2 separate regions of the Homo sapiens genome follow, and region 2 is linked to region 1. Evidence: promoter capture Hi-C in 16 types of primary human blood cells and fetal thymus (Javierre and others, 2016). All regions are on one chromosome and are shown on one strand. The core of a region is centred on a gene start or on the middle of the fragment in contact, and the rest is flanking DNA. Distances in the headings are between cores, read along the strand shown. Region 1 holds the start of TMTC2 (transmembrane O-mannosyltransferase targeting cadherins 2). Region 2 has its middle 48 kb from the start of NTS.

Region 1 (6,812 bases), core at 2,921-5,420:
ATTTTGGCCCAGTACAATTTTAGAATTGAGAGAGCAAGGAAGAGGCGCAAATCTCCTGCTCATAAATAACCAAATCTGTGGGCACTTTAAAAAGCATTCTGTGCAGCAAGAGAATTTACGTGCCACATTTCACCCTTGGCACACTTTCCAAATGAATTGTTCAAAGAGAAGTTATATTAGGACAAATAGAAATGACGACCAGGACCAGATGTGGATCTTTAGTTAATATTTATGCAACACCCAAAGGGAAGATAGTATTGCACAATAAACTAAAAATGTCTTAGGCAAATAAGGAAATCTTTACCCTGAGGAACTGGCACTGCAAAGGTATGAATTATACAACAAAGGACTGAGAATGCAGAACAAATGCAGGGTAGGTCGGGGCTACTATAAAAAGGAATTCATTGAGGAAGTGGTGAGGTAGCAGATGTGTGGAGCCTACTTCAGGAAAATAAGGGCTTAGCGCTTTTTTGGCCAGTATTGTGTCTAAGGTAGAAAATTCAAGCCAGCCATCCTAATTTCCTTCACCTGTGGAGAGCAACTGTCGCTTTAAATAGAACATACACATATTCAGAACTGATGCTGCAACCTTACATCAAATAAGTACACCTTGATAAACTAAAAACCTATGTCCTCAGATTTTAAATGATCTCCAACAATAATGATGACATCTTTAATCTGATTTTCCTCCTAAAGTTGTTCCAGGAAGGTAGAAAATTCAGGAATTGGCTGCTTCTCAGCCCTTGGAGAGCAATCTAAAAGAGACCATGGCTTAATGCTCTGGAAGGATATTGAAACCTACATTAAATTATAATAGAAAAATTTGTTAAAAGCAACTGGATTTCTCAAACACAGCTAGGTTTTCAGCCTTCTGTTTATCAGGGAAGGCAAGATGTGCCATTTTACAGCCCATCTCCCAGTCACCTAGGCTTCCAATTCAGAGGTATTGGGAGGTGGGGAAAGGAGAAAACGAGGAGATGGAGGAGTGTATAAAATTTATTTAAAACTATTGGAGCCATGGCTGGGCGCAGTGGCTCATGCCTATAATCCCAGCACTTTGGGAGGCCAAGGCAAGTGGATAACTTGAGGTCAGGAGTTCAAGACCAGCGTGGGCAACATGGTAAAACCCCCGTCTCTATTAAAAATACAAAAATTAGTCGGGCTTGATGGCACACACCTACAATCCCAGCTACTGGGGATGCTGAGGCAGGAGAATCGCTTGAGCCCGGGAGGCAGAGGTTGTAGTGAGCCAAGATCGGGCCACTGCACTCCAGCTTGGGCGACAGAGTGAGATTCTGTTTCAAAAAAAAAAAAAAATTAAAAATTAAATTAAACTATTGGAGCCTTAAAAATGAACACAGCTGTGGAAAAGGCTTACAAGCTTTTAGCATGTGGAACCCAAAGCTCTCTAATATTTTTACATATCTGAGTCCTCTTAATAACTGAAGAGACCTGTCCATGTGACTCCCCTTCACGGGTATTCCTGCAGACTTGATGTATTCTGAAAAACTGTGAACCTGCTCCCTTCCTCTCTCCTTGGTTAATACTTCACGATCTTTAACACTAACGACAAACAATAAATCAGCGATGAAAATTTTTGGATTTTCCAGCTGTTACGTAGTTTCTCCTAAGCACATTTATTTTGTTCATTTATTAACAATCTTTTTAAAGTTTCTTCTCCGTGTCCAGATGTTATAGGCTCTGGGTTTTATGTGGAAAAGAAGACTGACAGGATCCCTGACCTCATGGAGCTTCCACTCAGTGGTGCTTCCAGATACTAATACATACTATGAAGAAACTAATACATGGTGGTTGGATAGAGATTGATGGGGGAGAGCCTACTTTATTTCTGAGGTTATGCCATTTGAGCTAAGACCTGAATGGTGAGAAGGAGCTAGAGAAGGTTTGAGGAGAAGAACCTCATGCAGGAGGAAGAGAAAGTGGTTAGTTCCTGAGAAGGATGTCTGTGTTGTACACATATGAACACAACATGAAGCGGGAGGGGTAGTCTGGGCTAAATGAAGGCTTGGCTGGCCATGGTAAGAATTAGTTTTATTAGCTGTAAAACAGGAAGTTGTTGGACATTTAAAAATACAACAGGAAGTTGTGGAACATTTAAAAATTGGGAATGTATAGGTTTTCAAAGGAAACTTCTGCCTAAAGTTAAAATTGGGGAAGGGAGGCATTGCAGGGGTAGAAGTACGGGGACCACTTAGAGGGCTACTGCATTTGTCTATGCAGGAGATGAGGGCAGCTGGGCTGTGGACTCAAGTAGTAAAGATGTGATAGGATGTGTTTTGGAGGTAACTGTCCAGGTTTTTGTTAACAAGTAAAATGAAACGAGGAAGCTAGAAAGCATAGTAATAATGATATACTAGCTAATACTTCTGTAGCACTTTCCTGGTCCCTTTTAGATATTTTACATAGGTTAACTACTTTAATACTCATAATAACAGTACTCATAAGATAAGTACTATTATTATCACTGTTTCATAGATTAGAAAACAGAGTCACAAAGAGGTTGAACGACTGGCCAAAGATCGCCCAAATAGTAATAGCAGAGTATGCACTCAAACTTAAACATCTGATCCCACAGTATGTGTTCTTCCTTCAGTGTTCTAGGACACCATATACATATTTTATATATACTATATATATCTCAGCATGTAAGTGCATTGGAGAGACACAGAGCATCAGGATGGACTAACTGATATGATTTTCAAAATTTTCAAGTGAGCAAAGGTTATGGAGGAAAAGGGTAAAAGATCAGTCCCTACCTGTAAAGACATAATTCCTTTTATTTTTGTTTACATATATTTGTCCAGGGCACAAAAAATGTGCTACTGTGGATGGCATAACAGGTATAATATTAATAAATATTCATCATTTTATCTGTGTGTATCCAATACAGATTTCTCAGATTTCCTTGTGAAATCAGGGAAATATGTAGCTTTGTTCTACAGAAGCCCAGACCACGGTATTTTCTTTCCAGGCCACTGCTAGACACCCAGGGGGCTCAATTTCTTGCCACAGTTTCGGAGAGCTTGCTGGTTAGGTGCTGCTCTTGGTTGGAACCAGTCGGCCCGCATGCAAAACAGACCTGTCTTCCACACCTTGTGGTTACTATGCAGCAGGGGGCGCTGCAGTAGTGTACATCGCGGTGCACCGGAGCTACTCTCCTGGCCAGAAAGCCAACAAGCCGGGAGGAGGCGTGTCAGGCAGCCCTGGGTCCTCTTTGGTCTTGCAACTTTAGTACCCAGAGCTTGTTCTACACAGACCATTCTACACCATATTTCACCATGTTGGATGCTTTCCATCCAGTCCTGCCTCCGAGCGGAAAGGAAAGGGCATTAGCTTACTGCCTTACTAGGTTTAAGTATAATGCTGTACCGGCTTGCACTAGAGGTTTCTCTCCTGTGTTCTCAGGGTCAACCCGACAGTCCCTCTGAAACCACGAAGGGGTCCCCGGGCAGTTGCTGCGGGGTGTGTGTGTGTCTTTCTTTCCCTTTTTGGGGTCCTTTCTTTTTAACCTTACTGAAGGAGGAAACGTTTCTCTCCCTACACGTCTTTCCACTGACATTGTGGCCAACCGTAGGCTAAGAGCTGAAATCTCTCCTTCCTAAGTTGCCTCCAAGCTCTCCAATACTACCTCCTCCCCCCCATTTAGTCTCACACACAGTGTGCGTGAGAGATCGCCAGTGAGTTTGTGACAACCGAAGCTGCAGCAGTCGCCAAACCTGTTCTTCCTCTCCCGGTCTCAGAAGTCTCTCCAGCTGACCGGACTTACGCCTGGCAGCTCTTGGCACACACAGCGCTGTGGCTGAGATTCAGCCGTGCCAGGCGCTGCCAGGCAGCAGCGGGGCGACCGACCACCTCCTCCTCGACCTCCTTTCTCCCAGCTTCCCCTCCCAGGGTGCACTGTATCTACTCCTTTGGGCTGTCTTCCAGCCGTCGCCCTTGGGTCCCGGGGGCTTTCCAGAGTGAAATCGAAGGTGAAAGAAACAAGAGGACGGGAGGCTGGTAGGAGGAGCCTCCAGGCCGGGGAGGGTGGGAGGAGCCTCCAGCCCGAGGGGCAGGGTAGGAGGAGCCTTCCGGGAGGATCTGGGTGGAGAAAGGGGCTGGGCCAAGCCGGGATGGAGGGTTGGTCACGCAGGCGCGGGGGGCCGCGTCGAGAACCCCACGCGGGAGCTTCTGGAGTCTCCAGCCACCGCTTCTCACTTCACTGGAGAAGGGAGCTGGGGCTGGGGCTGGGGCTGGGGCTGGGAGGGAGCTAATAAACATTGAATGTGCAGCAGCTGCCTTGGCGGCCGGAGTCCGCCCGAGCGACACCGGAGCAGTGCGCCCGGGAGGCGGCGAGGGGAGGCGGTTCGCCTTGTCCCTCCCACCCGCGCCTCTTTCTCTCTCTTCCTCCAGCTGGTCCCAGAGCCCGGCTTGGTCCGGTCCCTCTGCCCCCATCCCGCACCCTTCCACCTCCTCCGAGTCCCACTCCTCACCTAGGACGCCCCAAACTGCCATGGGTTAGGGTGGGGATCGCGACCCGCGCGAAAGACCAGCCCTGCGCTTCCGCCGGGGGACGCGGAGCCCAAACGCCGCTCACCGCTTGCGGGCGCCGGGCATGGGGAGTGTGGTGTGAGCCCGCACCCGGGGAGGACGCAGGAGCTGCGGAGACGGGCGCGAGGAGGAGGAGAGGAGTCGTGGATTGGAAGGACCCGAGGGAGGGAGGGTGGGGAAGCGAGGGAAAAGTGAAGCTGGGAGGAGAAGGCGGCGGAAGGTGGAGATTGATGCTTCTGTTTTTTGTTGCCGCTGCTGCCCTCGCGCTGGGAGCCGAGCCGGAGGGAAGGCGGTGGAGAGATGATTGCAGAGTTGGTGAGCAGCGCTCTGGGGCTCGCCTTGTATCTCAACACCCTGAGTGCGGATTTCTGCTATGATGACAGGTAAGGGGCCGAGAGGAGGGGGCGACGGGCTGCAGGGGGCACACTCCGCAGTGGCTCTGAAGCTTCCCTCTTTAAGGCTCAAAGTGCGTCTTGGAGGAACTGGTTCAGCACCTGATGGTTTAGGCGACACGTAAACATTAACACCTAAATCAAACACCGGGGACGTGAGGCGCGCTGGGCGGGCCGAGGGAGTTTCCGCTCCTAGTTTGCAGCAGGTTCTCTCCCTTGCTTCTCGGCTGTTGGCAGACGCTTGAGTTTCTTAGCGGAAATCCCGGCAATTTGGGAAACTGTTTAATGAACGTATTAAATTAAAGTCTTAGGTATTCCTTGATGCAACAAAGCACATTAAGTGATTTTACGTCTGGTTGGGAGGAAGCCTCTCCTCGATCCCTGATAGATCCTCCCTGTCCCGTTTCCTTTTATTGATGGGACACTTTTATTTCCCGAAGTTAAAACACACGTTTGATAGTTGCCAAAATTGTGAAAAGGGAGATCGTTCTCTGCTTTAACTTTCCCTTTTAACGTGTATAGACTTTTACTTTGAGCCAAAATAATGCTGCTGATGGTCTCTCCCGCCGCCCTAGCCTCCTTCACCAATCCATTGGGCAGCACTTTATAAAAGCCTCGGCTTTCTCATTTCTGTTTGGGAGTTGTACATTAGATGTTAGTGGTTCTTTTGTACTAATTGGAGAAGAAGACGCCCCTAGAGACTGAAGTTGTCTTCTGCACTTAGGTTAGTTTGGGTGGCTAATGAGACCTGAACTGTGTTGTCAAAGAAACTGCATCGATTTCTGGAAAATGTCACCGTTGTGTTGGTGTCTCTTCCTATCTTTTAAACGTTATTAGTGTTCAGAAAGTGATGAAAAGCCCCTATATCCATTAGGGAAAATTCCAATTTGTGTCCTTCCGGTGTCTTAATCTGATTACAATTAAAACAGATGCATAATTAAAATATATTAGGGATAACAGCACGCCTGGCTAAACTTATTAACCGTCCTGGGGTGTTTCATGCTCCATTGAAATTAAACCATCCAAAAAGTGAGCACAGATTTACTTTGACAGCTTTTCAGCAGCCTCTCTGAGCTATGAAAAGTGAATGGATCCCCAGGGTTAGGGCGAGGCAGTGAGAGCACTTACGCAAAGTGGTTGACAGTGAGGGGAGGTGAAGGCAGAATCTTCTTCTCGTCGTAATTAGCCACATTCTGTATTCTCTGGTGTGCCCATTCTCCTGCTAAAAGCATCTTCACATCTCTGTTAAAAAATCACCTGATAATAGGTGCCAGAACATCCAGCAAACCCGTCTTAATGCATTTTATGTAGTGCCTACCAGAGGCTAGTTGATAGGGAACCACTGTTAGACATACATTTTTTCTTAACTTTTACGCAGCATACTGATTTTAGCAACTACACAGCATGCTCTGAGAAATGGTCTGTAGGAGTGAGGTAAATTTCTGTTCTCTCCAATTTTGTGTAATGGTGCACCTGCTATTTCTAGCATATTCGTGGAAAAAGCCCTTGTTTCCAAAGATGGGTGACTTTTCACTAAAACCAGCTTGGGTCAGTGTGGGCAGTTACTGGCTCTGTTGGGGGCGGTTTGAATAGTAAGCATTTAAACCAAGAATATAGAGTTTATTTAAAAAAAGAAACTTACTATAATAATGCAACTTGATGGGTGACTTTTCACTAAAACCACCTTGGGTCAGTGTGGGCAGTTACTGGCTCTTGGGGGCAGTTTGAATAGTAAGCATTTAAACCAAGAATATAGAGTTTATTTAAAAAAAGAAACTTATTATAATAATGCAACTTGTTATAGAACACGGTGGTGAATCAAGTATTCCTATTGTATGCCCTTGTTCATTGCTGTCTAATCCTTAAGAA
Region 2 (6,389 bases), core at 180-2,679, 3.2 Mb after region 1:
AATTTCTGGGATCTTTAATCTGTTACAATGGACTGTAAGTCTGTCTTTATTCCAGTACCACAATGTTTTGATTACTGTAGCTTTGTAGTAAGTTTTGAAATAAGAAAGTATGAGTAATCCAATTTTGTTCTTTTTTGTCAAGATTATTTTGGTGATTTGAGGCCCCTTAGGTTACATATTAATTTTAGGATTTATTTTTCTATTTCTTTAGAAAACAATGTCGAGATTTTGATAGGGATTGCAATGAATCTTTAAATTGTTTGGGGAAGTATTGACATCTTAACAATTTGAAGTCTTCCAATTAAAGAATATAGGATATCTTTCCATTTATTGATGTCTTCTTTAATTTCTCTCATAAGTGTTCTGTAGTTTTCATTGTACAAGTCTCTCACTCCCTTGGTTAATTCCTAAGTATTTTCTTCTTTTTGGTACTATTGTAAACAGATTTGTTTTCTTAATTTTCTTTTTGGATTGTTCATTGTTAAAGTATAGGGTCACAAATAATTTGTGTTGATTTTGTATCCTGCTACTTTACTAAATTTGTTTATTCATTTTAAGTGATGTTTTAAGTAGAATCTTTAGGGCTTTCTGTATGCAAGATTATATCATCTGCCTTAGAAAGGAGCGTCACAATAATTTATCAAGAATTTGTCTCCATTTACTTCAATACTTTTATGGTGGTGAAAATAGGTTAGAATGACTATTGGTATATAAATTTAAAAGAATAATAGATAATTAAAGATATTTTGATGAGTGGCAGGTTATTTAAACACATTTGTGCTATAGATAAAGAAACTTAATGTCAGTTTATTTATTTATTTACTTTTGAGATGATGGAGTCTCACTCTGTCACACAGGCTGGAGGGCAGTGGCGCGATCTCGGCTCACTGCAACCTCCGCCTACCGGGTTCAAGCGATTCTCCTGCGTCAGCCTCCCGAGCAGCTGGGACTGCAGGCAGGTGCTACCACGCCAGCTAATTTTTGTATTTTTTTAGTAGAGACGGGGTTTCACCATATTGGCCAGTCTGGTCTCAAACTCCTGACCTCGTGATCCACCCGCCTCAGCCTCCCAAAGTGCAGGGACTACAGGAGTGAGCCACCGCGCCAGGCCTGATGTCAGTATATTCAAAAGCTTCGAGTTCTCTGACTGTGGAGTTAACCTTTGCTCCTCAGTTACTTTGAGGCATTGTAAATCCTGGGGCCTAATTCACATGGACCTCCTTTAGAATAATCAAAGATGAGATAAAAATACAGAATATTTTTATAGCATTTTAATTATCTTGGAAAATAGTCAAGTTAATTACTCTCTTTAAAAACTAAAAAACACAACTTCATTTCCTGATCGTACCGGAAAAAGAGAACCTATAAGTTATCTTTACACATTCCAATAATCTTTATTACATCACCTTATATGGCATTTTAAAGTTGCCATTAGCATAACTTATTGTTGTGATTGTATATCTATAAATAATCTTATATTTAGGAGTATAAGGCAGATGGGTTTTCTTGCACAATTCATAATTTCAAGGATGTGAACAGAGAAATAAAAATGATACAAAGATAGGTGCATAGATTATAGGATCTAATTTTGGAATTATAGACAAATTTCAGAGATGCACGGAAAAGACTACCTGTGACGATAAGCAAATCTAAAGAGGGCGTTTAAAATATATTTTTATTTTTTGCATTATATTGCCACCTAGTGGTTACAACAGATATGAAAAGCAAAGCTTTTATAACCTTTGATGTCAGAAAGCCTTAACAGTCAACAAATACTGAAAAGAGAGAAGAGATGAATACATTTTAATGTTACTTTCTTTTTTCATTTTCTCTGCTCATCTGCTTAGAGAGATAATCACTAGTTCTGTGGAAGGCAGGAGGGGAAATAATTCAGACCCTTCCCACTAGCAGTGACTATGGCTAAATTTCTGCTTACATACTTGAAGACAAACATACAGCATCAACAGGATATTAATTTCTTTATAAAGACTATACAGTCTAGACAGTATTTAATAAGAATATGTGCCCTACTAAATAACTCTGGCTTTTATTCTAAATAAATATTTTTCTTTTTAATTGCAAGGAGCCCTCAGTTTAGCTCAGAATTCCCTTGCTGAGCCACCATAAGAAAATGGTGCTAATACAAAATACAAATACAAAATAGTCTCCCCATCCCCTATTTCTCTATCTTTTTGCTGTATCTGGCCAAGCTTTGAATAGTCTCCCCTATTCAAATTTTTCAACTCATATGAAAAGAGAAATGCCAATTCGTTCTTTAACATTGTAGGCCAGCATTTCTTGCATAATATTATAACCAATAAAATTTGAGCTCAATGAATAATGACCATATATCACATTATATATTTTGAATTTTAAAATTAAAAAATTATATTTATATATTTATTTGTGTCCAAATTGGAATAAAAATAATTTTATTTATAAAAATAATTTTCATTTAATGAAGTTTAACAGTACAAAATAAGCTATAAAGCTACCACCTTTAAGTTGTTCATCTCCTTACCAACTAGTATATAAGGTCATATATTTTATATATGATTTTCTGAGGCTTAGTAGAGAAGGAAACCCTGGAAATTATAATATACTTAGAAAACCTGGTATATGTCCAGGGAAGTCAAATTTGTTAAAACATAATAAACATTTATTAAATAAGTGAAGGAATGACTAAATGAATGGATGGATGTATGGATGGACGGAGGGAAGGAGGGATGGATGGATGGATGGATAGATGGATAGGTGGGCTGGCAAACTTATAGAAAGAGGATTTCTCCTTCCATGAGTTCAAACATTAGACATTAAAAAAAAAAGTTCTCAATTTTCCCATGAATGAAACAGATGTCTTTATATCCTTGCTCCTTCTAGGAAGGCCCAACAGTGCCATTTTAGAAATTCTTTGAGAGAGAGGTGCCACTTAAAGTAAGCAATCCCCAGTTGCTCAATCTGACAAATCACTGCAAATAATAACATGTTACCAAAATTAGCCTCCCCCATGCCCCCCAAACAGGATATCAAGCAGTCTGGTAAGAGATATACAAATAGAAAATTGTTTCAAGGGATTTAGGTTCCAAAAGTGGTGGTGGTGGTGGTGGTGGTGGTGGTGGCGGTGGCGGTGGCGGTGGCGGTGGCGGTGGTGGTGGTGGTGTGTGTGTGTGTGTGTGTGTGTATTTATAGGCTTCTTGTGTCTTTGGAAAAACCATGTCATAGGACCTCCTAATTTACCCTGCGTAGGAATTCTTGTAAGCATTTGCAGTGCCCTGGTGCTCTTTGCCGTGTAGGGTTTCCTAAAACCTCTACTGATTAACTGTTTAATGTGGGCACTTTTTAACAAGAGAGAGTCCAGAATACAATAAGGGAAGGATAAAAATTTATATTCCTGACATGCACAGTGGGACCAGGGCCAGTGAGTTTTTTTCTGGTGAAAACATGCTGGCAAAATATTTGGCAGTACAATTAATGAAGACCTTTAATGAACTAACCAATACTAAGAAAGAATTCAGTGAAAAATTCTGTCAACAACTTTTCTAATAAGCCACACTAATAGAGAACTAGGATTTCAAAATGAGTAACTTTTCAGTAAAATTCCTTGATAAACTTTTTTTTTCTTATGAAATGCTAATGACTAAACAGTAAATATGTACAGCATCAAAATCCTTGGTGAAATCACAGGGCTATTTCAACTATAATGAAAACCGTCACCACTCTACAAAGAGAGACCTCATGATTTGCAGCAAAGTATCTGTCTGTTTTCTATTGCTGTTGTAGCAAATTACCACAAATTCACTAGCCTAAACCACACAAATTTATTGTCTTACTGTTCTGAAGGCCGGAAGTTTGAAATCAGTCTAAAAAGGTGTATTAGTCTGTTTCTGCACTGCTATAAAGATACCACCCGAGACAGGGTAATTTATAAACAAAGGAGATTTAATTGACTCACAGTTCCGCATGGCTCGGCAGGCCTCAGGAAACTTATAATCATGGCAGAAGAGGAAGCAGGCATGTCTTACATGGTGGCAGGCAAGAGAGAGTGAAGGGGGAAGAGCCCCTTATAAAACCATTAGATCTCATGAGAACTCCCTCACTATCAAGAGAACAGCATGGGTGAATCTGCCCCCATGGATCCAATCGCTTCCCACCAGGTACCTCCCTCAACACCTGGGGCTTGCAACCCAGATTATAATTCAAGATGAGATTTGGGTGGGGACACAGCCAAACCATATCAGGTAAGTCAAGGTATCTGCAGGGCTAGCTCCTTCAGGAGTCTCGGACCAAGGAGTCTGCTTCCCGGTCTTTTTCAGCTTCAAGCAGCCACATGTATTCCATGGTTTGTCATCTTGTAGCCTTTCCTCCATCTTCAAAGCCCATTACTCCAATTTCTCCTTACTTCATTAGGTAGCCATCTCTTCTGACTTTACTCCTCCTGTTTCCCTTCCAGAATAATCCAGGTCCACTAAATAATCCAGGATAATCTCCCTATTTCATAATCCTTAATTTATTCACATCTGCAAAGTTTCTTTTGCCAATATAAAGTAACATTCACAGGTTCCTAGGAATAGGATGTGAATATATTTGAGAGCTATTATTCAGCCTACAATGGTCTCTATGTATCTGAAGTAGATAGCTATACATATTTATATAGAGGGCAATAAATTTAGGGTCAGTTAGTAATTTAAATTATCATAGAGATATTTATGAACCTTGATAATAATTAAGCTCCTATTAAGCTCCTATTCATTCCACTTTTCAAAATATTGAACAATAGATTGCACTTACATTTTAGTATATTTTTGTCAGGTTGTTACTCTCTTGAACATTTCATTTTTATTTTATCAAAATTTCTTTATGTAAACCAGAAGTACCTAAAGCTGTACATTTTTTCATATATTCTGATATAGTTTTGCCATTTTCCTTTTAGGTAAATATGTTACCATGGGTTTCCTTTGAAAGTCAAAACTCTAAAATTACAAAAAAATTAAAAATATACTCAAGAGGAATAAAATTAATGAGGAACAAGCAGATATGAGGCATCTACATTAAAGAAGTATCAGGGCAGCATAACTATTTTTGACCACTAGGTGGTATTCCTAATCCATAAAACTGTGATAAAACATGTTCTTTAAGATTTAATTTCTTTTGGAAGTTTAGTCATTTTATTATTTTTGGACTGATTTTTAATGTGAGATTTAGATTAGCCAAACAGTGGTTTCTTACAAAAATACCTCTCCATTGAATTTCAATACCACAGACATACTTTGCTTTAAACAACCATGTTTTTAAAATACAGGACAGGACTAGAACAGTTTGTTGGCTGTTTCCTCACAGTTTATTTACTTCTTAATTGTAAGTTTCTGTTGTAAAGTACCATAAAGTTAGTGCAAACCAAATAATTATTATCTAGTCTCCTCCCCTGAAACACATAAACAAGTATCAATACAAAAAATTAACATTTTTAAATAATACTATTTATACGTTTACATCTTAACACTGTTAAATTTTCATAACCCTGAATATCATGTTCTTAATGGATAATTTTTAAATCAGATAATAAGGTATATAGTACATTTCTTTGATATTTTCAGAGCTTTAAAATAATACAGAACCATGGCTTACAATAGATCTCTGTGATGCTGCTAGAGCACTACTTATCACATTTTCATACATGTAAATTTCCAAAGAGCAAATTTTGACAAGAGTGTCAGCAGAATGGCATTTTTAAAGGTCATACTGAGTGTTACCATCTTTGCTACACATAAATCTTTGTGAAAATACAATTACAAGTATTTTTCCCTAGCTGCTGATTAATTAAAATTTGTTTTTTACAAAGTCGAATTCATTTAAAAAAAAAAAAAATCAGATGCAATATCCCGAATAAAAAAGGGAAGAAATCAACTGATTTGCAGTTCAGAGGGATTGTATTTTTTAAAAAATTGGGCAAAGCATTTAAATTATGAAAGAAAGATTAATGGAATTACAGTAATTTTCTATTAAAACTCTACTTTTGCTTGTAATTACATGTGACTATTGTGATTGAAAATAAAATTTTCAGTCATGCTAATGAGCCACAATCTGTGACACTGAGAGCTATACAAGTAGATTTCTCCATTATATCTAAAAAAATTGCAGATGAGTAACTAAACCTTATGCTGGAGCCCTGTCTTTGGTGTCGCATGTGAAGATTAACATTTTATGTAAGATCTGCAATGTGTTCATATTTTAGAATAAAGAAAGAGTTTTGAAAATTATTGACGTAAGTAAATAAACTGAATTTCAACTATGTTGGGACATGATTCAAAGGCATTCAAAATTTTTTGAAATATATTTTCTGATTTGATTTGGTCTTTTAACAGTATTGAGAAGTTTGTAGCTCAACTGGG

The links. The method cuts DNA at HindIII sites, captures the fragments that hold promoters and counts their contacts. A CHiCAGO score of 5 or more calls a contact.
Region 2: a fragment that was not itself captured here is called in contact with the fragment with the promoter of TMTC2 in region 1 in 1 of 17 cell types (total CD8 T cells); the score reaches 8.2 in total CD8 T cells.

The regions. Positions count from the first base shown.
Region 1 is chr12:82,682,736-82,689,547 of GRCh38, forward strand. TMTC2 (transmembrane O-mannosyltransferase targeting cadherins 2) reads left to right here and starts at 4,171. Exons shown (of 12, transcript NM_152588.3): 1 at 4,171-4,934. The coding sequence starts at 4,852. RefSeq lists silencers at 3,122-3,201, 4,052-4,151, 4,722-4,771, 5,132-5,191 and enhancers at 3,632-3,781, 3,802-4,011. The HindIII fragment of the contact is 3,615 bases long and covers 1,380-4,994 here.
Region 2 is chr12:85,918,841-85,925,229 of GRCh38, forward strand. No RefSeq gene overlaps it. Among named protein-coding and RNA genes, the nearest start is that of NTS, 48 kb to the left of the region's middle. The HindIII fragment of the contact is 598 bases long and covers 1,131-1,728 here.